Linked DNA regions of Homo sapiens: region 2 is linked to region 1. The links are contacts of gene promoters, found by promoter capture Hi-C in human tissues and cell types (Jung and others, 2019). All regions are on one chromosome and are shown on one strand. Each heading gives the region's core, a stretch centred on a gene start or on the middle of the fragment in contact. The rest is flanking DNA. Distances are from core to core; before and after follow the strand shown. Region 1 holds the start of CNN3 (calponin 3). Region 2 overlaps ABCD3 (ATP binding cassette subfamily D member 3).

What was found. Contacts are between HindIII fragments. The study calls those that stand out against the background at their distance.
Region 2: a contact is called between a fragment that was not itself captured here and the fragment with the promoter of CNN3 in region 1, in 1 of the 25 tissues and cell types used here (hippocampus).

What each region holds. Positions count from the first base shown.
Region 1 is chr1:94,925,146-94,930,267 of GRCh38, reverse strand. It overlaps CNN3 (calponin 3), which reads left to right and starts at 3,158. Exons shown (of 7, transcript NM_001839.5): 1 at 3,158-3,430. The coding sequence starts at 3,374. It overlaps CNN3-DT (CNN3 divergent transcript), which reads right to left and starts at 3,908. Exons shown (of 3, transcript NR_168377.1): 1 at 3,528-3,908. RefSeq lists silencers at 2,641-3,520, 3,621-4,050. The HindIII fragment of the contact is 8,752 bases long and covers 1-5,122 here.
Region 2 is chr1:94,473,744-94,479,026 of GRCh38, reverse strand. ABCD3 (ATP binding cassette subfamily D member 3) reads right to left here. Exons shown (of 23, transcript NM_002858.4): 5 at 5,192-5,261; 6 at 3,787-3,884; 7 at 3,290-3,413; 8 at 712-768. Among named protein-coding and RNA genes, the nearest start is that of ABCD3, 58 kb to the right of the region's middle. The HindIII fragment of the contact is 6,153 bases long and covers 5-5,283 here.

The sequences.
Region 1 (5,122 bases), core at 1,909-4,408:
TGGGTTTTTAAATAGGTGTATCTATGTGTATATGTGTGTATCAAACTGAACACTTTAAATATACTTTGTTATATCAATATACTTCAATAAAGCTGTTAAAATTGTCCCAAATTTTAAGTTTTTCTCATTTGATTCTATAGTGCCACAGTAGGTAGTCAGACACAAGCAGAGCAGGAGAGGGCTCCCCGCTCCCACCAGGAATGTCACGCAACCATCAGGTGGTCAGGCAGTTGTTAAACTGTCTCTCTAAAATAATAACTGGTCACAGCCGGCACCAGGGAAAGGCAGTCTCCCAATGGCTAGAAAATACCTACAACTGGTGATCAGCAGCTTCTGGATAGGATCTTAGGAGTTGGCTGAGTGGGCTCACAGGTGTGAACTAAGAGGCAAAATGGTGGCATTTAACTGGTACTCATATATGACCTTCTTCTAGGAACACTTGACTAGTAAGCGAAGAATGCCTCAAGTGAGCATGCGTACAACCTCAGTTAACACACTGAGCATGTGGTCCCTCCCAAGTGCTGGCAGGCCACTGCACATGCAGACAGCCCACCTCAAGGGAAGAATCAGGGGAAAAGGGACACAACCCCCTGGAAGCATGCCAATGTATAAAACCCCAAGTCAAAGGTCAAGCAGCGCACTTGAATCTCTCAAGTTGCCCGCCTGGCCCTCTTCCAAGTGTACATTACTTCGTTTCATTCTTGCTCTAACTTTCACTCCTGCTCTAAAACGTGCCTTGGCCTCTCCCTCTGCCTTATGCCTCTCGGTAGAATTCTTTCTTTGGAGGAGGCAAGAATTGAGGTTGCTGCAGACCCATACAGATTTGCTGCTGCTAACACACTTTGGTGCATGAGACTCAGATACATTCCCTAGTGCTAACAACAGCATTACGTATTCTTACACAATGAGTTAAATTAGAAACGAAGGAAGTCTCTGGAGTACTGATGGAATCCAAGAGGACCAACAATATTTAAATAGTAAGTTCCAGTGGCAATGTCAGAAAGAACTTCAAGTACCTTAGGGAGGATAACAGTTGATCAAACAAACAAATGTAGAAAATTTCATGTTTACTTTAAAGTCACGTAAGTGTACAATGGCATTAAGTACATTTACAATGTTGTGTGACCACTGTCACTACCCATCTTCAAAACTTTTTCATCATCCAAAACTGAAATCCTGCACTCCTTAAAAAATAACTCCCCCTAAACAATAAAATTCATGGTTTTCAAGACAAAATACAATTCTTGAACATTTTACAATAAGCTAAAGTAGATTAAAATGACTTTGAGCATACAACAGGAGCAGTCAGGCTTAGATTGCTGCAAAAAGGCTTTGCAGGCTGGACACCATGATTTGTACCTCAAATCTGGCTGCTATTTCCCACACTCCTAGGTCCCAAAGAAATGTGGGTGAGGTCCTGCGGTTGACACACCGTCACTGTCATACTACTGGAAAAACAGCCCAAACTGTTAGCCTCAATGATATTGGGTCAATTGTGTCATCTTCGTGTGGGAAGAATGCCCTAATTATCATTACTCCCTTTGGACAAAATTAGCAAGTCATTTATAAATCATTTCACTTTCCTCCCTATTTGCCTCCTCCCGCTTCCTTCAGGTTCCATCCCTCAAAGTCATTGGGAAAAGCCTTGCAAACTGGATAGCAGTTTTGTGCATTTCCGGTTCAAGCTGCCTTACTCACTTTTTTTTTTTAATTTAAAAAAACTTTGGATTTTTTGTAGAGACAGGATCTTGCTATGTTGCCCAGGATGTTCCTGAACTCCAGGCCTCAAGCAATCCTCCCACCTCGGTCTCCCAAAGTGCTAGGATTACAGGCATGAGCCACCACACCTGGTTCACCTTACTCACTTCTATTCCAGGACGGTTCAACTATGATGTTTTGGCTCCTCTTCTCAAGCAGCTTTCCACACCTGGTTCCATGATCTCTTCTGGCACAGTAGCTGGTATTTGGCAAACATAGGTTTCATCCTGGGATCTCAGGGATTGAAATCTGTCCTAGGTGTGCACCAGAAAGTGGTGGCAAGAGATGAAGCTTCGGAGGAGGCTGACCTCGGCCAGGATTCTTAAGTCTCAAAGTTTCAGCTTTCTCACCCCTCAACGGACATGAAATCTACCTATTTGTAACTCCAGGGAAGTAAATGAGATAATGTTTGGAAGATATCTAGTCTACCAGCTGCTCAGGCGGGGGGCGAAGGTTCTGTTCCCTGTCCCTTCTCTATCAAATGGCTTTAAAATCAGAAGAAAGTATTACGGGTAGGAAATGGGACTGCGAAAAAAATGGAGGCTGATTCTGGCCTAAAGGATACTTATCTCTATACAAAGGGCTTCTGATTCAAAGAGGCCCCGGGATTCAAAAACACAAGCAGAGCTACACCACGTGGGGTTTGGGACGAGCTGAATTCCGGATAAAGATGCCTGTAAAGAGGAGTTGATGCGAATCCAGAAAAGCACTTGAAATGCCCAGGCTTTGCATGGCACATTCCCCAGGATTTTTTCGCACCGCATTTAGAGGTTTAGACGGAGTGAGCTCGAATCAGGCCAAAAGCCTTAGGTTACTCCTGGGCGGCAGCGGGGCAGAGGTCAGATCAACAGGTGTGGAAGGCTGCGAGGTGAGGGAAGAAGCAGGTGTCGGTGGAGGCCCCAGTTCCTCCGGCCCAGAGGCTCCAACGCTGCTATTGGTGTTCCAGCAGCGGGCGGAGGGGTCCTGCCCGGCATCTGGGCGCGCTGGGCCCAGAGCCCGGGAGGAGGCAGACGGAGGCGGCGGGTCAGCGGCGGGCCAGCCCCGGTGGGCTTCCGCTCCCCTCCGCCGGCCCGGTCCGGCCCGCCGCGGAGGATGCCTGGAGGTTGACGTGAATGGCCTGTGGCTGGGAAGCCCCCAGGCGCCCTGCCTAGCCCGGGGGCGGGGCCGCCTAGCCGCCGGCCCCGGTGGCGTGAGGGCTGGGGCGGGGGCCGGGGACCTCGCGGGGAGGGAGCGGGAGGGAAAGCGGCCCCCGCGGCCCTTCAATTGGCCGCACCGCCCCTCGGCGCAGAGGCGGGAGGAGGCGGCCCTCCATTGGTCGGGCCCGGCGGCCAATCCTCGAAGGCCCAGGCGGAGGCGGGGGCGGCCTGTGGGGAACCGAGGTGCGGGCGGCGAGCGAGGCAGCCGGGTGCTTCGCAGCGGAGCTCGAGGCTCTGTAGCACCCAGTTGGACCCAGTCGCCCAGGCACCGCCCGCGCCCCGCGGCCGTCTCCTGCGCCTCCCAGAGGAGGGAGTTCGAGCATCCCCCGCGGCGGCCACTCCTCGGGGCCAGGAGCGGGGAAGCGAAGTGCGAGAGACCCCGGACCCCAGCGCTGTCTCTTCCCGCCGCCCGAACCACCATGACCCACTTCAACAAGGGCCCTTCCTATGGGCTCTCGGCCGAAGTCAAGAACAAGGTACGCCTGGCTCGGGCGGGCGCGGGGGCCCCCGGGGCACCCTTGGGCTGGCCTGGCGCTGGGCCGTGCTTCGTTTGCTCTTCGCGCTGTGGCTCACCGTTTTCCTGGAGAGGGGCCGTCGAGGCGGCGCGAGCGTCTCTGCCTGTCCCGGTCGCGTCCAGTCCCCGGGCTTGCGGGGCCGGCTCCCGGGCACCCGCCTGGCTTTGTTCCCGCGCCGTGGGACAGGACTAGTGGCTGGCGGTGGGTTCCCGGGCGCCTGGAGTCCCGCGGCGCCAGCCTTTCCGGCTGCGGGGGTCTCGGGGGCCGTTTGGTGACTGCAGAACGCGCCCTCCGGGAAGGGGGCGCTCCTGCGTGGCCACTCGCCCTTAGGCGGAGCCCGTCTGCGCGGCCAGGGACCCGGCGAGCCGCTGCCGCAGCCCCCGCCATCTGCCCGGGCCCCGGGTGCTGGCGGACTCCGCGCCTCCCCACGGGGAGAGAGACCGCCTAATGTCCCGCCGACCCCAGGGGCCCCGAGGAACGGAAGCCGGTCCGGGACCCATCACAGTCTCCGATCTCGGTGCCTGGGAGGCATTTGGAGGCAGATTGCTGCTGCTGCTTCTGCTGTTGCTTTTGCGGGAAATGGAGACAAAGCCTGAGCGCGCCACTGTGCGAGTGATATCTGCTTAGGCTTGAGACTTTTTATGAAACACTGAGAAGTTTGAAGTACATTAGACTTTCACGACATAAAGGATTATTTTTGTGGGTTGCTTTTGTTTGGGGCTTGTTTGCTGAGGCGGCTTATAGTTTGGAGCGATTGGGATTTGGTGACGCTCAGCTTTGCCACTGAGCCCAAGAATGCGTTAGGTTTATCTTTAGGACTTTTGGCCTGGGAAAGAGATGAGAGGCGTCCCCCTCCCCAAATCCTCTCCTTCCTTCCTCCCTCCCTGCATTCCAAGCCCATGACATCAGGGGTTTCTGGGGGGAGAGACCAGCCAATCGGCGCGGAACTGTGCACAGAACGCTCATTGTCTCCTTTCTGCTGTTCTGGCCAAAGCGCCACAAAGGAGGGCTGCCTGTGGTTTAATTCCCATTAACCTCCCGGGAGCCCAAGCATGTCAGGATTGCCACCGCACCGTCCGACCGCTGGTGGAAGGCACTGGCATTGTCAGAGCTGGAACATCCCGGGGCTGCGGGGGTAGGCGGTGTGAAGCGAATTATGTAAAGAGGTAATGAAGCGCACCGTTGTCAAACCCCAAGGGAGAGTTGTGGCTCTTGTCTCCCGCTGTTAGTCTGCACATCATACTGTCTTTGAAGCAAGGAGTTGATTTTAGTCTATGTATCTAAAGTTGAAATGTTTAGGTCCTTTACCTTTTCAAACGTGTTGCCCGTATTAGACAACAGTTTGCTAACAATTTTTTTAGAGAGCAGAAAGGTGAATGGTTTGTGTATGATTGAGTGCAAACCTCACCAACTGAAAAGTTTGTAACAAGTTACTGTTTCCTTCCTTCCAGGATTTACAAACCGAACTTTAGGAAACTTCAGAGGAATGGGCATGTCCAAAATGTTGGATGTGATGTGATACTTTGGCCTGGTTGTGCACATTCATTGTAATTCCCCCCAGTGATTCTTGGCTGGCAGCAGTTGAGTCTCTACTACCTTTTGCATTGTAAATGAGGTACTGATAACGTTGGCAGCCCTTCAAGTGACTTACTT
Region 2 (5,283 bases), core at 1,832-4,331, 450 kb after region 1:
CAACCATACTATTATATGGCTGTGTTATAAATATGTAACAATAACATTACATATTAAATGACTAAAGTTACATTTCAATAAGATAACTCAAAGAAAACTTAAAAGTGATTCTTGCCATCACAAATATCAGAGACTTGGATAATAAGGCTCATGGGATAGCCAACCATTTACATTATAAAATATTCTTGGAACTGTTACACCCACTCTAAATGTATCGTTATTTTAACATTAGAATTTCATATTAAAATGGATGTCTCCATATCTCTTTTTAGACATTACTTTGAAACAATAAGTACAAGTATATTCATGGTTTAAGAACTTCTGTTTTATTATTATTTTTTAAAGAAGCGGGTCTCGCTTTTTGTCCAGGCTTGTCTCGAACTCCTGGATTCAAGCGATCCTCCCATCTCAGCCTCCCAAAGTGCTGGGATTACAGGCATGAGCCACCACGCCTGGCCAATACATTTGTCTGGTTTTTAATGCCACAAAATTTTTCCAAGTACCTAATTTAAGGAAAATTAAAAAGAAAAATTAGTACTTCTAAAATCTCGAATGAAGTATTATTTTATAACCAGACTTTGTTAGGTAAATCATGTGAAAATACATTCTTTGAGATCTACAAAAATTCTTACAGGCCATCAAGCTATTCACAATATGTATTTCAAATATTATATTATATCAATTTAAAAGTTGAAATAAAAGCAGACTCACCTGAGCTCCAATTGCACTCGTTAACTTAAAGATATACAAAACTATGTCTAAAAATGGCTGTAAAATAAATATTAGAATACACAGAATTAAAACTAAAGCACTAGAATGATAGCTAATACAACATGTTAACTATAAAATGTCATTAAACATTTAATATATAATTATCAACATGTAGAGGTCCCACTATGTACAATGTACTGTGATAGTAAGTAGATCAAAGAATACATGAAAGATAACAGTTTTCCTCTCAAGAAACTTAAAATGGGAACAGCTTACACAATGTCTACTGACCATCAAGTAGGAAAAACATTTATCACTTTCCATCAACTAAGATACCTCTACTGTGATAATTAACCACTAGTAACTCAGTAATGTGTCAATATAATGTAAAGACACTGAATAAAATGACCTGAGATGTAACCCCAAATCTGCTACCAGTTTGTTTCTACATATCTTCACCTGTAAAGTGAGGAGCTTTTCCTGCTCCAATATTGTTTGACTCTATTACTTTATCACTTCCATGGCAAAATAATCAAGTAAGCCATTGAATCTAATTTTGTGATATAAAACTCAAGTCTCTAGAACCAAAATAACACATTAATGTACTGCTCTTTACACACAGAGACAACTCAACTAATGCACCATCAGCTGCATTAGTTTGAAATGTTTTTCAAGAAACACAAATTGTGTTCATTCACTTTAAGTCAACAGCCACTGCTTGCACCTCCACTTTTTTTTTTGAGACAGGGTCTGGCTCTGTCACCCAGGCTGGAGATCTTGGCTCACTGCAGCCTCTGGAGTAGCTGGGAGTACAGGCGCACATTACCATGCCTGGGTAATTTTTGTATTTTTTGTAGATGGGGTTTCACCATGTTGCCCAGGATAGTCTTGAACTCCTGGGCTCAAGCGATCTGCCCACCTTGGCCTCCCAAAGTATTGTGATTGCAGGGATGAGCCACTATGCCCGGCCAACAGCCAGCACTTTCTAATCCACATTATTACTAGGATAGATGGCTTGGTTTGTTAACTGGCTTGTTTCAACATCTACCTTTCCCTTTCCTTTTTTTTTTTTTTTTTTTTTTTTTTTTGCCTTATAAGTTATCAAGAAGCTAGAGATACTTATAAAATTCAAGAACTGTTAAAACTTATGACAAAAATAATGACTCATAATTTAAGTTGGAGGTCAATTAGATGTTTAAAACATCTAACTTACACACTGGTGTACAGCCCCACTACAAGTACTTAATTTAATATTCTTCTGTATTCCAGATTTGACAAAACCTGAGACTTGCTCAAGTGCCAAGATTTAAAGAATACATAATAATGTCTATAAAATTACATGGAAAGTTGTATAGATACACCCCCCATTCCCACCATGCATGCATGCATACACACACACATACACACACAGAGACAGAGAGAGAGAGAAAGAGAGAGAACAAACTTTCAAATGTGGTAATGGGAACAGAAAAGAAAGCTTAATTACTGAACTATTTGTAGTTGTCAGAGTTCCCGAGTTTGGGATCAGTTAGCAAAGGCTTCTGGAGAGCTAAATAAATAACAAAGTTGGGCTGGAAGTGAAAAGCATTGGGCCTGGGCATGAGGAGAGCAGCTCTTGTGGATATATATCTCTAAGAATTGCCTTCCCTCCATCCATCTGGTTGAAGCAAGAACATTCCTATTCTTACAATGTGACCCAGTCCTTTTTATAGTTTTGGTTTTCTTTTGTCTCAAAACTGTATATCTAGGTCAACTGTGACCAGAGGCAAAGATACTATCATTGGTCCAGTATGAGACAAGCTCCTAGCCAACACCAAGGGAAGTCACATGAGTTAGAGTGGGAACTGAAGCATCTCAGATGAAGAGGGGAGGGGATGCTGGGCAGACTATTTTATAGGTGCCTACTACATATCATAGTCAATGCAAGAGGTAATGGCAAAGAAGAGGGTTTAATAAGAAGACTACAGCAAAAGCTGTAAGGGTGGTGAGATAACATGACTAAGATAAGAACTGGAGAAATCAGTGAGAAGAAGGAAAACTGACTAAGGCCTATCACAGTCAGGAGCTTTGGCAATATTCTGAGGAGAATGGGAAAAACAGTAATTAGAAAACTGAAATATACTTGCATCTTGTGAAATTTTTTGACTACTACTTACTAATGATCTATTAGAATTAAAGATACTGAAGCAGAGAAATGGGCAGAAAGGAAGTCCTAGTCTAGTGTTATAAGTGTGGAGTTAGAAACATAAATTGACAGTCAATCTCTAACAATGGCCGGATGCACACAGGTCAAAAGATGAGAATTCAAATTTCTGTTGTTTTAATGGAATCAACCTGCAAAATTCTTAGAAAATCCTTATAAGACACTAAATTATCAGTTCTTTGCCAAAGTACCTCACAAAAATAATAGAAAAAATTAAAATAATTAAAACTATTACAACAACTCTAATTTTCTTATAAAAGCATTAAATATTTACATGCTGCTGTTATGTCCACAAAATCAATTCTATATAAATTTGCTTAGATTCAAAATTCAAAAAATTAAACAAATAATCTTTTAAAAAGGAGAGAAACTTACCTTACTAAGATTTGAATACAGATCGACTACACTGTTACAAAATTTTTCTACATCTTGTGTAAGCAGCTGGTCTGGATTAGCTATTCTGTTGTCCAGATTCCCCATTTTATAATATGTGAAAGCTCTAAAATAGCAAGAAGAAAAGTGATTTTAAAACAAGTGACTTTAAAGATAAAACAACAACAAAAAAATCATATTACACCACCTAGCTCAAATACATAGAAACAAAAAAGTTTGGAGCCAGAAGAGATCCTATTGATTGCCCTAACTGATTTTTAGAGAGGAGGACACAAGTCCAGAAAATGATGACTTGTCAATTAATGGAAGAGCCAGGACTAGATTCCAAATAACTGAAAGGTTGTTCCCAACATGCTTCTGTACCTAAGAGTGGTTTTCTTAGAAAACATACAATAAATAAGAAAAACTGCTATATTGATCAGCTTCATAAATACTCTTCTATTTAAATATTTTTAATATAAAAATAGGTTATCACTTACTGAAGATACTCCTCATAGAGGTATTTAGTGAGCCTTACTCGGAAGCACAGTTTAAGCTCATTTAACCCATACTTCAAGAAGTTATTAACCAGAGAGATCTAAAACAAACAAACAAATATTATTGGTTTTGCTTTTCATTTCTGCTTACTAAACTATAATTTATTTCTCTATTATTTCCTGTGTCCCAAATCCTACAATTTTTATAATTTAGTCCAAATTTATATAATTCAGTTCTGTTTTACTTTACTGCATTTAGCTAAACCAAATGTACCTCGTTTGAATTATTCTATGTTAAAGTTTACATGGAATATGTTAATATCACTAATTACGCGACATACCTTGCCCATTTTTTTTGGTAAACGGGCAAAAAGTCAAATATATCCCCTTTCTAGCCAATGTAAAGACTTGCTTTTAGGAGTTCAGACATTTATATTTTCTGTTTCCTACTATCAGCACTACAACCCTAGACAACGGAATTCTATATACACTATATTTGCATTTGTTAAAAAAAAAAAACACTACAGGTTTTACACCAACTAATGCTATTTTCCAGATTATTTCTAGAGCCATCTTTACTAACATTTTCCATCGTTACATTACAAATTTTCTCAAGTGGTCTTTGCTGAATCTTAATCTTTGATATCTATGTTGCTTATTCCAATTGTTTATTTTAAAAAGTCTAAAAGCTATGTAGCCCCAGCTTCCAGCTTTATTAAACAAGAATTTCTGGCAATTTCAACATAACTGGATTTTACAACCAAGCTTCTCATTTTTACCCACAAATTCAGAATATTACATTCTTACAGCGCCAAGAAAATTAAAATGAGAACCAACCTAAGAAAATCACTTATATTTTAGACTAAACAATTTATCTGTAAAAAATTCAGACCATAAATTCCAATTTAACTTAAAGTAAATTAGTAGTTCAAGTTACTGTAATAGTTTATGGCCTAAAGTAACCAGGATGATTTGCATTCCCCCCTCTAAATCCCCCCAACTCCCCAAGTTGCCCCCTGCCCATACCCATTTTGCAATGACTGGAATCATTTCTGGTTGTTAGAACTAGGAGAAGGGTGCTACTGCTATCTAATGGTCATTGATGATGCTAAACACTGAAGAAAACCTGGACTGAAGGTTAAAAAAAAAATGCCAAAAAACCCCTCACCCACATACATATGTATATGAATATATATACACATTATAAATGAAATTAAACCAAACATAATCCCTTTTTTATCTAGTATGAAGGTTTACATTGAAAATTATATTATAAATTACAAAACTAAACTGAAAATAGGAACTTAGTATCATAAGTCTTTAAAGAATTTAATAAGTAAAACCCTTAAAGATTTTAATAAGATGCAAATTTCCCGTGTTAAAAAGATTTTTAATGAATTAAACTTACAAGAGGCATGGCAGCGATGAAGTTGAGTAAGTATCTCTTGAAATCTTTCCTGCTACGACCAATGATACCACTGCAAACCACCACATGCAATG